3 separate regions of the Homo sapiens genome follow, and all the other regions are linked to region 1. Evidence: promoter capture Hi-C in human tissues and cell types (Jung and others, 2019). All regions are on one chromosome and are shown on one strand. Each heading gives the region's core, a stretch centred on a gene start or on the middle of the fragment in contact. The rest is flanking DNA. Distances are from core to core; before and after follow the strand shown.

Region 1 (3,736 bases), core at 780-3,279:
AGGCTATAGGACTAGCAGTGACTAGTGTCTTACTTGTCTTTGTACACCCAGCAACTATCTCAATACCTGGTACATTTCAGATGCTCAATAAACACCTGTTAAGTGAATTGATGAATAAATACAATTTAGGATTACTCCATTCACAGACCTATACTAAGTCCAGTGGTATCATCCATAAGGCTGAATAATGTAAACTAATTCATGCCTATGTTTTACTCAATGCTCCACCACTCATTTGATCAGAAACATAACATGATCCTAGATTTAGTGTCCATTTAACATAATCACTTTAAGTCCAAATGGCAGAAAGAGACAAAATACCCTTTTTCTTTTGGGCAAGCAATGCAATGTACTCAACAGACATCCCTGACCTTCATCCCATCCTGAATCTCTCCCAATTGCAAACATGTATTGAGGAGATAAATGAGTCAGGAATGGGACAAAGGACAAAGTGAAGCTGAGGGATTAGGTCAGTGAGTCTCAGGATCAGTGAATGGCTATTTCAGATAGCGTTGGGTAATGTTTCATAAAAGCTGAAAACGTTTCATGACTTATTTTCTTAGGCTGTATCAAAATATTCTTGGTATCAAAATGACTAGTTCAAAACATGTACCCATTTGATCTTCATAATAACAGTGTGAGGTAAACAGAGCCTGTCATTTCCATCATAAAGAAAAGGAAACTAAGGAAATATACCCTTCATTCAGCTGGGATTTTAAAATATGACTTAATTTTTTAATGCAGTATACTGGGATAATAATGCTATGTTATTACTGCCAATAAAGAGTTTTTTGTTTTGAAGGAGCTGTTAGATTTAGAATACTCTTTAGATCCTCAAAGGAAGTATTTGAGTGACTTCCAAACTCAAAAACCTCCGGAGCAAGGGAGATTTGTTTGTCAGCTTGGTTGTTTGTTTGTTTTTAGGTACTTGAATAACTTCCTCCTTGAAAAGGAGGGTGCAGAAATCAAAGGCCTGATTGTGCTGAATCCTTCTCTTTGGTCATTATTCAGACTGGTTCCCAGCATGCCGCAGTCCAGAGGAAAAGGTCCAAGTTCTGTTTAAAAATCAGAGACTAAAGAGCTTACTCAGCATCCTGCTCACATTAATGTTGCTTGTTTTCATCATTTAAAGTCTTTTGATAGTTCCTTGTATACAATAACCTTAGGCTTCTGGGAATATTCTCAGAACATAGGAAGCACCTCCCTGACTTAGTAAAGATGAAAAATGCTTTTCATGACTATCCCCTCTCTTGAAGGACCCCCTGGAACAGCCAGGTCTTTGGGCATAATTAAATTCTGGGCAAGATTTTACAGAAATGCAGCTTCTTTTTTCTAATTTAGTTGTGTGGTGTGTGTGTGTAAAGTGGGGGAGGTTCCACTTGGTGGGGAAAGGAGAATTTGCCATTGCTGCTCGTCTACTCAGGACTGTTTCTGTTGTTGTTGTGTTTCAGCATCAGAGAGTGAGAGTGTATTGCAGCAATCTGACTATTTGGAAGACTGTTCCTTGAATTTCCCAATTCAAAAGCCTCGGTAGAGCTGAGGGATGCTTGATACGTCAACACAGACCACAAAAGGCAGGGCTTTTCTAAAGAGATTATAATTATATCTACCTTTTGGGTACAGGAGGTGAATGGAAGGAAGGGATTCTGGAGCAGATATCCCAAAAGAAGAATCCCGAAGCAGAACTCCTCGCACAAGGTTATCTAAATCTCCTTGACAGGTGCACAGGCAGAGAAGGCATTTGGCCCTTGAAGTAACATTTACTTGAGAGGTTGGGACAATTCTGTCACGCTTAGGACAAGCCAGCTGACCCTGAGCCCAGGAGCACCCTAGGACTGCAGCACAGAAAATACACCAGCTGGCCGGTCGCCCCTCCTTTGTTCCATTCCCGGGGGATTGGAGTAGCGTTGGAGTCACCGACGCCATCCCCTCCCGCCTCTGGCGTGCATGGAGCATGCGCTTCCTTCCTCACTTCCTCTGCAGGAGGGAGCGAGAGTAAAGCTACGCCCTGGCGCGCAGTCTCCGCGTCACAGGAACTTCAGCACCCACAGGGCGGACAGCGCTCCCCTCTACCTGGAGACTTGACTCCCGCGCGCCCCAACCCTGCTTATCCCTTGACCGTCGAGTGTCAGAGATCCTGCAGCCGCCCAGTCCCGGCCCCTCTCCCGCCCCACACCCACCCTCCTGGCTCTTCCTGTTTTTACTCCTCCTTTTCATTCATAACAAAAGCTACAGCTCCAGGAGCCCAGCGCCGGGCTGTGACCCAAGCCGAGCGTGGAAGAATGGGGTTCCTCGGGACCGGCACTTGGATTCTGGTGTTAGTGCTCCCGATTCAAGCTTTCCCCAAACCTGGAGGAAGCCAAGGTATGTGAACACTTTTCTTCTTCCTACCTTCCTTTTATTTCGCCACGAAAAGGTAAAGTTTGGCATAATACGTGAGCTGTAAATCACCCTGACGCGTTTTCTGATCAAATCATATCCATGAATACGGACAGAGAAATCAGTTCGAATTTAGAGACAGAAGACAGATTTTTTTTCTTCACTTTTAAAATGATAGAGCAATAATATGGGTTGTTTTTAAAGATCTTATTTTGAAAAGGGAAGGGAACCTTTTTCACCTAAAGTGGCTTGGATTGTTTTCTAGTTGCCTTACAACCTTTCTCAGACAGTCTATTCATTATATATGCAGTATATGATGAAAGAGCTTTTAGTGTGCCAATAATACCAATCCAAATTATGCTCTCTCTAGCTGAGAATAGCTGATAACCCTAGTGTTAGAACTATATGTTAAATTTCTGGTCAGAAAAAAAAAAAAGTGTGATTCTGTCAGCTCAAGAAATACACCAAGATAATAAACAAGGCAATATTGATAATTACTATTATTGTATAATCTTGATAATCTTTGTTAATATGCATTTGTTTCATAGTCATCCAAAATTATTTCTCCTAATATTTTTCCTTTTTATAAAAATTTTATTTAATAAGAGGCATATTTTGTCCTTCAACGCACAATTAAATTTATATTCACATGTGTTTATTCTAGACAAATCTCTACATAATAGAGAATTAAGTGCAGAAAGACCTTTGAATGAACAGGTAGGTCAAAAGTAACATTATGAATGCTATTTCATTTTGATTTAGTTATTATTATTTAATGTAATTATGCTGTGACATTTTGGTCATTTTGAATTTACAAACATCAGGAACTTAATAGTTAATTGACAGAAATTAGGACGGGAAATCTAGTTTTGGTAAATTCTATGCCCTAGCAGTTATTTACATTGAGTTCTGTATAATGAATACATAGAGTAACTATATAATAACCCAGTAAGCTCAGCATCACATCCACTCTGTTGTAAGATTGCCTAATTTACCAGAGATTTCTCTTTCAACAATATTATAGGAGAAAGAAATTAACACTGACTGAGCATCTACCCTTAATTTTATCTCATTTAATTATTATAACAGTGCTCTGAAATAGGAATTATCCACATTTTACAAACAAGACAATTAAATCCCATGGAGATTAAATCATTTGGCTCTTGTACTTGGTAAGTAGTGGAGCAATGATTTTAAACCAAGTCTATCTCCTGTTTGCTTCACAGATTGCTGAAGCAGAAGAAGACAAGATTAAAAAAACATATCCTCCAGGTAAAAAGAAATCATATTGATGTTAATTTAAATAATGTAGGCTATGAGAATCTGAACTAAAATGGCTGTGTTGGGTTTGGGGCTA
Region 2 (3,736 bases), core at 859-3,358, 220 kb after region 1:
TGAGGCAGGAGGGTTGCTTAAACCTGGGAGATAGAGGTTGCAGTGAGCTGAGATTGCGCCGTTGCACTCCAACCTGGGCAACAAGAGCAAAACTCTGTCTCAAAATACATAAATAAATAAAAGGAATAATGAAAGGTGAGAATAATGAGAATTTTTTTTAACCTAAATGCTAGAGAAATGGTGATATGTGCTCTGCTCTGAGTCAGTAGTTTATGCAAATGCTCCATCGTAGATAAGTCAGATAATTATGGAGGAAGCTGCATTATTTGTATTCATTTGTAGACTAATTCTTAGGTGTTTGTATAATTTCTGAATACATTTTAAAGCAAAAAAAACCATATATTTGATTAATGGAAACTAAATATAATGAAAATTGAAATGTAATGATGTTTTATGTTATTGTCTTTCAAGAATATCCCAATTCCAACCCTAAAAGATTTTGCAAAGGCTTTGGAAACCAACACACATGTGAAATGTTTCAGTCTTGCAGCCACCCGGAGCAATGACCCTGTTGCTACTGTAAGTAAGCGACTTGAGAATATCAAAATTATGACATGCCCAGGGTGTGTTACAGTGGTGATTTTTATGAACAAGATTTACCCCTTTTTTATAGTTAATGTTTTAGCTCACTATTAGGCAGTATATTACTTACCAGCTTTTTGTGTTTATTTTTTCCTGTATTTCCTTCCTATGAATTTTTTCCCCCTCCCAGCTTCCCCCTCCTTCCTATGAATTTTTTAAAACATAAATGGAATCATGTAGTATATGCTGTTCTGCAACTTGATTTTTCACTCTGCAGTTTATCTTTAAAGTTTTGTTGTATCAATACATAGGGATCTACCACATTATTTTAACATCTTCAGAGGATTCCATTTATGGATCCTTAGTGGTGGATTTTTGTTAAATGCTTTTGCTGTGTCTCTTGAGATGTTCATATGGTTTTTGTCCTTTATTCTGTCAATGTGGTGTATTGATTGACTTTTATATGTTGAACCAGCCTTTCATTCCTGAGATAAATCCCACTTGATCATGGTATAAACCTTTTGTTTCATTGGCTTTGAGAATATCACTCACTCCCTTGGGGGCTCCCCTTACCTCAGTGGACATTCCTTCTCAAAGCCCTGTACTGGTTTCTCCATATCTCTTCAACTTCTAAATATTGGAATGGCCCAGAACGTGGTCCTTCTTTTCTCAGTCTACACTGACTTTCTGGGTAATCTCAGAAATATATATATTATCTTCATATACTTGCTGATGACTCCCAGTGTTATTATCTACAGTTTGTATCTCTCTCCTGAACTCCGTATTCATGTCCAGCTACCTCCTCAGCAGCTTTACTTGGATGTCTAATGGACATCTTACATGTAAGTCCTCAAACTCCTGACTTCCATCCTGTGCCTGCTTTTCTCTGCTGTTTTCTATCTTACTAAATGCAATTTCAATCTTTCATTGCTCAGGCAAACAAAAAAAAAAAATTTTTTTTTTTTTTTTTTTTGAGACAGCGTCTCACTCTGTTGCCCCGGCTAGAGTGCAGTGGCGCAATCTCGGCTCACTGCAACCTCCGCCTCCCGGGTTCAAGCGATTCTCCTGCCTCAGCCTCCTGAGTAGCTGGGATTACAGGCATGCGCCACCACGCCTGGCTAATTTTTGTATTTATAGTAGAGATGTGGTTTCACCATATTGGCCAGGCTGGTCTCGAGCTCCTGACCTTGTGATCCGCCCACCTCAACCTCCCAAAGTGCTAGGATTACAGGCGTGAGCCACCACGCCCAGCAAAAAAAAAAAAAAAAACAAAAAACTAATGGAATCATTCTCGACATCCCTTTCTTGCAACTTAAACCTACCTTTGGCCCTATCTTCAAAATATTTCAGAATCCAACCACTTCTCACCATTTTCACAACTACCACCTTGACCCAAGCCACCATCTTTTCCCACCTGGATTATTGCAACAGCCTCCTAATTGGGTTACCTTCATCTATTTTACCTACCCCAAAGTCAGTTCTTTACATAGCACCAAGAGTGATTCTTTTAAAACTTAAGTTAAATGACCTCATTCCTATTCGGATAACCCTCTAGCAGCTTCCCATCTCATTAAGAGTAAAAATAAAAATCTTTCAGTGGCCTTATAAGGCTTCACATGAGTGGACTTCATCTCATTTACTTGCCCTTTCTTTCATTCTACTCTAGCCATACAGCCTTCTTCAGCATGCCATGTGGACTCCCAAATCAGGGCCTGTACATTTGTTCCTTCTGCCTTGAACTTTCTTCCTAAAATAATCCACTTAGCTTTGTCTTATCACTTTGACTCTTTGCTCAAATGTCACCTTCTAGTTGAGGCTTTTCCTGACCGTGCTATATAAAATACCAACCCCATTCCCACCCCCAGTATTCCCCATCTACCCTATTGTGCCTTTTTTCTTTTTACCCTCTAACATTGCACTTTGCTTACTTTTATTATCTGTGTCCCTCCCCAGCTAGAATGAACATTCTGCCAGGCAGGGACCAATGTGTTTTATCTCTGAATCTCTAGGACAGTGCTAATCAAATAATAGACCATCAGTAATATTCGAATACATGTATGGATAAGGGATTTGTTCCAGGTCACATAGCTAGTTGTTGCTAATAGAAAGGACAAGTATGTAGATACCAGCCACAGTTTTTTTAGTATCTCTACGCCCTATTGCCTTTCCTTTAACTTTAAGCTTGGTCTTACCCATATTTTCTGTAGTTTAACCTTGCTTTTGATCCCTCTAAGGGGCTGTTTTATATAAACTCATGATCATTGTTCTTTTTTCTCTCTCTTTCCTTCCCCTCCTTCCTTCCCTTCTTCTCTCTTCCTACCTCTGTCTCTTTTTCTTTCCTTCCCAGTCTCCCTCCTCTTTCTTTTTTCACTTGTAGGCTTCTGTTAATTAATCAATATGGTACTTATTAAGCACTGAGTCAAATGTCTAACACTGTACTGTATCCTATGAGAAATGAAATAGAAGCAGATTGAAGACATACCATTACTTGAGGAATTTAATATTTTATTAGCCCCTTCTTCTCAATGGCCTTTGTGCTCTTCTGGTTCTGGTTATCTGTGTTCTTTTCTGGCCTTCTGCCTTGACCATTTCTTTTGGCCCCTGCCTTGGAAATTAGTACATAATTTACCCTCATTTTGGCTTCACATGATCCAGCTACAGCAAGACCCAAATAAGAAAAGATGTTACAGCGACATTGATGAAGTTGGTCTAACACAGAAACTGAAAGAGTGAGAGAGACAGAAGAAAGAAGCATGAAGTAGGGAATGAGGAGTAGAGAATGTCACCAACGGGGAATTACATGTGACCAAAAAATCAAAAGATTATGACTGGGTACATATGAAAAATAGGTACAGGCCAGGTGTAGTGGCTCACACCTGTAATCCCAGCACTTGGGGAAGCCGAGGTGGGTGGATTGCTTGAGCCCAGGAGTTTGAGACCAGCCTGGGCAACATGGTGAAACCCCATCTCTACAAAAAATACAAAAATTAGCCGGGCATGGTGGCACACAACTGTAGTCTCAGCTACTCAGGAAGCTGAGGTGGGAAGATCAATTGAGCCCAGGAGGCAGAGGTTGCAGTGAGCTGTGATCCTGCCACTGCACTCCAGCCTGGGTGACAGGGCAAGACCCTGTCTCAAAAAAAAAAAAAAGAAAGAAAAGTAGATACAGTCATCCATGGGTTCAACCAACTTCAGATCAAAAATATTTGGAAAA
Region 3 (3,736 bases), core at 570-3,069, 140 kb after region 1:
AGCCTGGGCAACAGAGCGAGACTCCATCTCAAAAAAAAAAACTGGGTATAAAAGGAACATACCTCAACATAATAGAAACCATATGTGACAGACCCACAGATAGTTTCATACTGAATGGGAAAAAATTAACTCTTTCCTCTAAGATCTGGAACAAGACAAGGATGCCCACTTTCACCACTGTTATTCAACATAATACTGGAAGTTCTAGCTAGAGCAATCAGACAAGAGAAATAAATAAAGAGCATCCAAATTAGAATAGAAGAAATCAAATTATCCTAGTTTGCAGATGACATAATCTTACATTTGGAAACACCTAAAGATGCCATCAAACAACTATTAGAACTGATTAAAAAAATTCCGTAAAGTTGCAGGAAACAAAGTCGACATATAAAAATCAGTAGCATTTCTATATGCCAACAATGAACAACCTGAAAAAGAAATTTAAAAAGTAATCCCCTGATGGTGCTTTTCATGTTCTAGTAATGCACACATTTTGGCCCAGCCTCCTGATACCACAAGTTTCTTTTATGTACTTAGGCTCACTTATGGATGCATCACTTTAAAAGCCAGGAATTTAGGAAAGGTTCATAACATTTTTATAGAACCTTAAGCTTTTTGAAGGGTAAACACTTGTAAAACTTCTCTAAAGAACTGGTTGGGTGCGATGGCTCAAACATGTAATCCTAGCACTTTGGGAGGTCATGGTGGGTGGGTCACTTGAAGTCAGTAGTTTGAGATCAGCCTGACCAACATGGTGAAACCCTGTGTCTACTAAAAATACAAAAAAATTAGCTGGGTGTGGTGGTGCACGCCTGAAGTCCCAGCTACTCGGGAGGCTGAGGCAGGAGAATCACTTGAACCCGGGAGGCAGAGGTTGCAGTGAGCCAAGGTCGCACCACTGCACTCCAGCCTGGGCAACAGAGCGAGATTTCATCTAAAAACAAACAAACAAACAAACAAATTAAAAACTTAAGGAGGATAAAAATGAAGACAGTTTAGTTAATGGGTACAAAAATACACTTGGAATAAGTTTTAGTGGTTCAACAGCACAGTAGGGTGACTGTAGTTGTCAATAATGTATTGCATATTTCAAAATAGCTGGAAGATTTGAAATGTTCTCAACACAAAGAAATAATCAATGTTTGAGATGATGACCAATTACCCTGGTTTGATTATTACACATTGTATCATGTAGCAAAATATCACATGTACTCCCATGCATATGTACAATTATAATGTATCAATAAGAATTTAGTAAAAGACAAAAAGAAACAATTATTTAAGACTTTTAAGCAAATAGGAAAATAAGCTGACAATCACTACAAATATCAAGAAGGAATCCATTGGCTAGATAACCTAGAAAAAACAATACATTGTTTTCAAGCCAATAAATGTTTATAAAAAATTCAAATAATACAAGGAGGCCAGGCGCGGTGGCTCACACCTGTAATCCCAGCACTTTGGGAGGCCGAGGTTGGAGGATCACTTGAGGTCAGGAGTTTAAGATCAGCCTGGCCAACATGGCAAAACCCTGTCTCTACTAAAAATACAAAAATAAGTCAGGTGTGGTGGTGCACGTCTGTAGTCCCAGCTACTCAGGAGGCTGAGGCAGGAGAATCGCTTGAACCCAGGAGGTGGAGGTTGCAGTGAGCCAAGATCGTGCCATTGCACTCCAGCCTGGGCGACAGAGTGAGACTCTGTCTCAAAAACAAATAATAATAATAAATAAAAATAAATAAAGACAAGGAAAAGTAAGCAGAAGTTAAATCATATCACAACTCTGGTCTTGGTAGAAGGGTTTGGGGCATCTAGCATTTATCATTTAAAGACCTGAATTTAATTCTTATTTAATTCCATTTATGACAGGGATCATATTCATTCACTCACCTGAGCTGAAATTTGGCTTTCTGCAGTGACTGTAGGAGAGTCTAACAATGGACAGCACTGGGAATTTATTGCTTCTATAGTAAATGTTAAACTGAACAGTTTTAGCACTAACATTTTTAATATTATTAAAATAGTATTAAAATTTGGGGATAATATTTTAGGTTTATGTGCATATCCCAGAAGTTTATTCTTTAATAGTGATGTTTGTCATCAACTTTGGCTTCAGCTGAAGAGTGACTTATTTTTTGGCCCTTTTGGCATTTGGCTGAAATGTGTATTCAGTGCACTTCTAATGGAGGCATAATGGGGTATGAAAATATGGGAAAGGCAAAATTAATTCCAGCTGATGGCATTAGTGAAGGTTGAGTGGGGAACAGACATTTGAGATGGACAATGAAACATGAGGAGGCTTCTAACAGGCAGAGATGGGTTATAGAAAAAGGGGCACTTGAGGCCAAAAAGTGTGCTTGAATCTTTCCTGTAAAACTGTATGCACACAGGCGTGGTGGCTCATGCCTGTAATCCCAGCACTTTGGGAGGTCAAGGAAGGCAGATCACCTGAGGTCACGAGTTTGAGACCAGCCTGGCCAACATGGTGAAACCCCGTCTCTACTAAAAATACAAAAATTAGCCAGGCATGGTTGTGCACACCTGGAATCCCAGCTACTTGGGAGGCTGAGGCAGGAGAATGGTGTGAACCCGGGAGGTGGAGCTTGCAGTGAGCCAAGATCACGCCACTGCACTCCAGCCTGGGTGACAGAGAGAGACTCCATCTCAAAAAAAAAAAAAAAAAAAAAACCGGTATGTACCCAGCCATGATGTTTGTCTTCTGTGATTGCTACCTCCCACTGCTTCCATAGGATTCCTACCTCCAAGCTTCCATAATGAAATCCTTCCCTTTTCATTTCAAATTTTTGTCTTTAGTTTTTCTCAGCTCTCCTATAAATACACGTTTTTACATACACACAAAATATGCTTACATATACCAAAGTAACTATTTCCTAAAGGAACTCTTTGATAACAAGAAAAGTGCTGCTGTTATTAATTAGCATACGATGATTCAGTGTGACATGCTTTCTGAGTTATTCTGGCTGGAAGTTTAGAGATAACACTAATTAGAGCTTGTAATATTAACACATAAAGTAGAGTTGAAGTGTCATTTTATCAATCACTTTCACTCTAACCAAACCCTGAACACTAATGGGAACCATACTCTGTCCCTTGTTCAAATATTTTACCTGAAGGCCTCAGATTTGTTCTCTGTAGTGTGTTAGCCTGTTGAACTTCAACAGTTTTCCATTACTTGAAGTGGGTTAAATGCAGACGGTTGGGGGTGCCATACCACTTCTAGTTCAGATCATCATGTTTCTTTGATTAGGCACTATAGTAGTCAGCTTTTGCTAAGTAAGTCTATAGTAACAAACGAACCTAAACCTCAGTTTCCCCTTCGCTCACATTATATATTATGTCAGCTAGTGGCTGAGGCTCTGATCCATGTAATTTCTTATTCTAGAACCCAGGCAGAAGGACCAGCCTCTATTCAGAACTTGTCTCTCTTGGTGGAGGGAAAGAGCAGGCACACTAGTAGAGAAAGGCAGTGACTCTTAAAGCTTCCACCCAGAACTGTCGGATTGTCCCTTCCACTTATATTTTATTGACCAAAGCAAGATTCATGTTTCTAAACTTTGTGATTACAATATGACATTTAACCGAAGAGAGGAGGAAAATCCCATCATGGGATCATAGCCAAGCCTGGAATGCCTGCGGGGCAGCACTGGAAGTCACATAGTAGTGGGCAAGCCTGTCTATTCCTCTAAAGGAGAGCAAATATGTGGGAACAATATTTCAA

Evidence for each region. Contacts are between HindIII fragments. The study calls those that stand out against the background at their distance.
Region 2: a fragment that was not itself captured here is called in contact with the fragment with the promoter of SCG3 in region 1 in 1 of the 25 tissues and cell types used here (liver).
Region 3: a contact is called between a fragment that was not itself captured here and the fragment with the promoter of SCG3 in region 1, in 4 of the 25 tissues and cell types used here (H1 embryonic stem cells, dorsolateral prefrontal cortex, mesenchymal stem cells and 1 more).

What each region holds. Positions count from the first base shown.
Region 1 is chr15:51,679,474-51,683,209 of GRCh38, forward strand. It overlaps SCG3 (secretogranin III), which reads left to right and starts at 2,030. Exons shown (of 12, transcript NM_013243.4): 1 at 2,030-2,364; 2 at 3,044-3,096; 3 at 3,606-3,651. The coding sequence starts at 2,283. The HindIII fragment of the contact is 9,018 bases long and covers 1-3,736 here.
Region 2 is chr15:51,896,008-51,899,743 of GRCh38, forward strand. It overlaps TMOD3 (tropomodulin 3), which reads left to right. Exons shown (of 10, transcript NM_014547.5): 7 at 412-519. Among named protein-coding and RNA genes, the nearest start is that of TMOD3, 68 kb to the left of the region's middle. The HindIII fragment of the contact is 5,912 bases long and covers 1-3,736 here.
Region 3 is chr15:51,822,250-51,825,985 of GRCh38, forward strand. No RefSeq gene overlaps it. Among named protein-coding and RNA genes, the nearest start is that of TMOD3, 5.5 kb to the right of the region's middle. The HindIII fragment of the contact is 5,527 bases long and covers 1-3,736 here.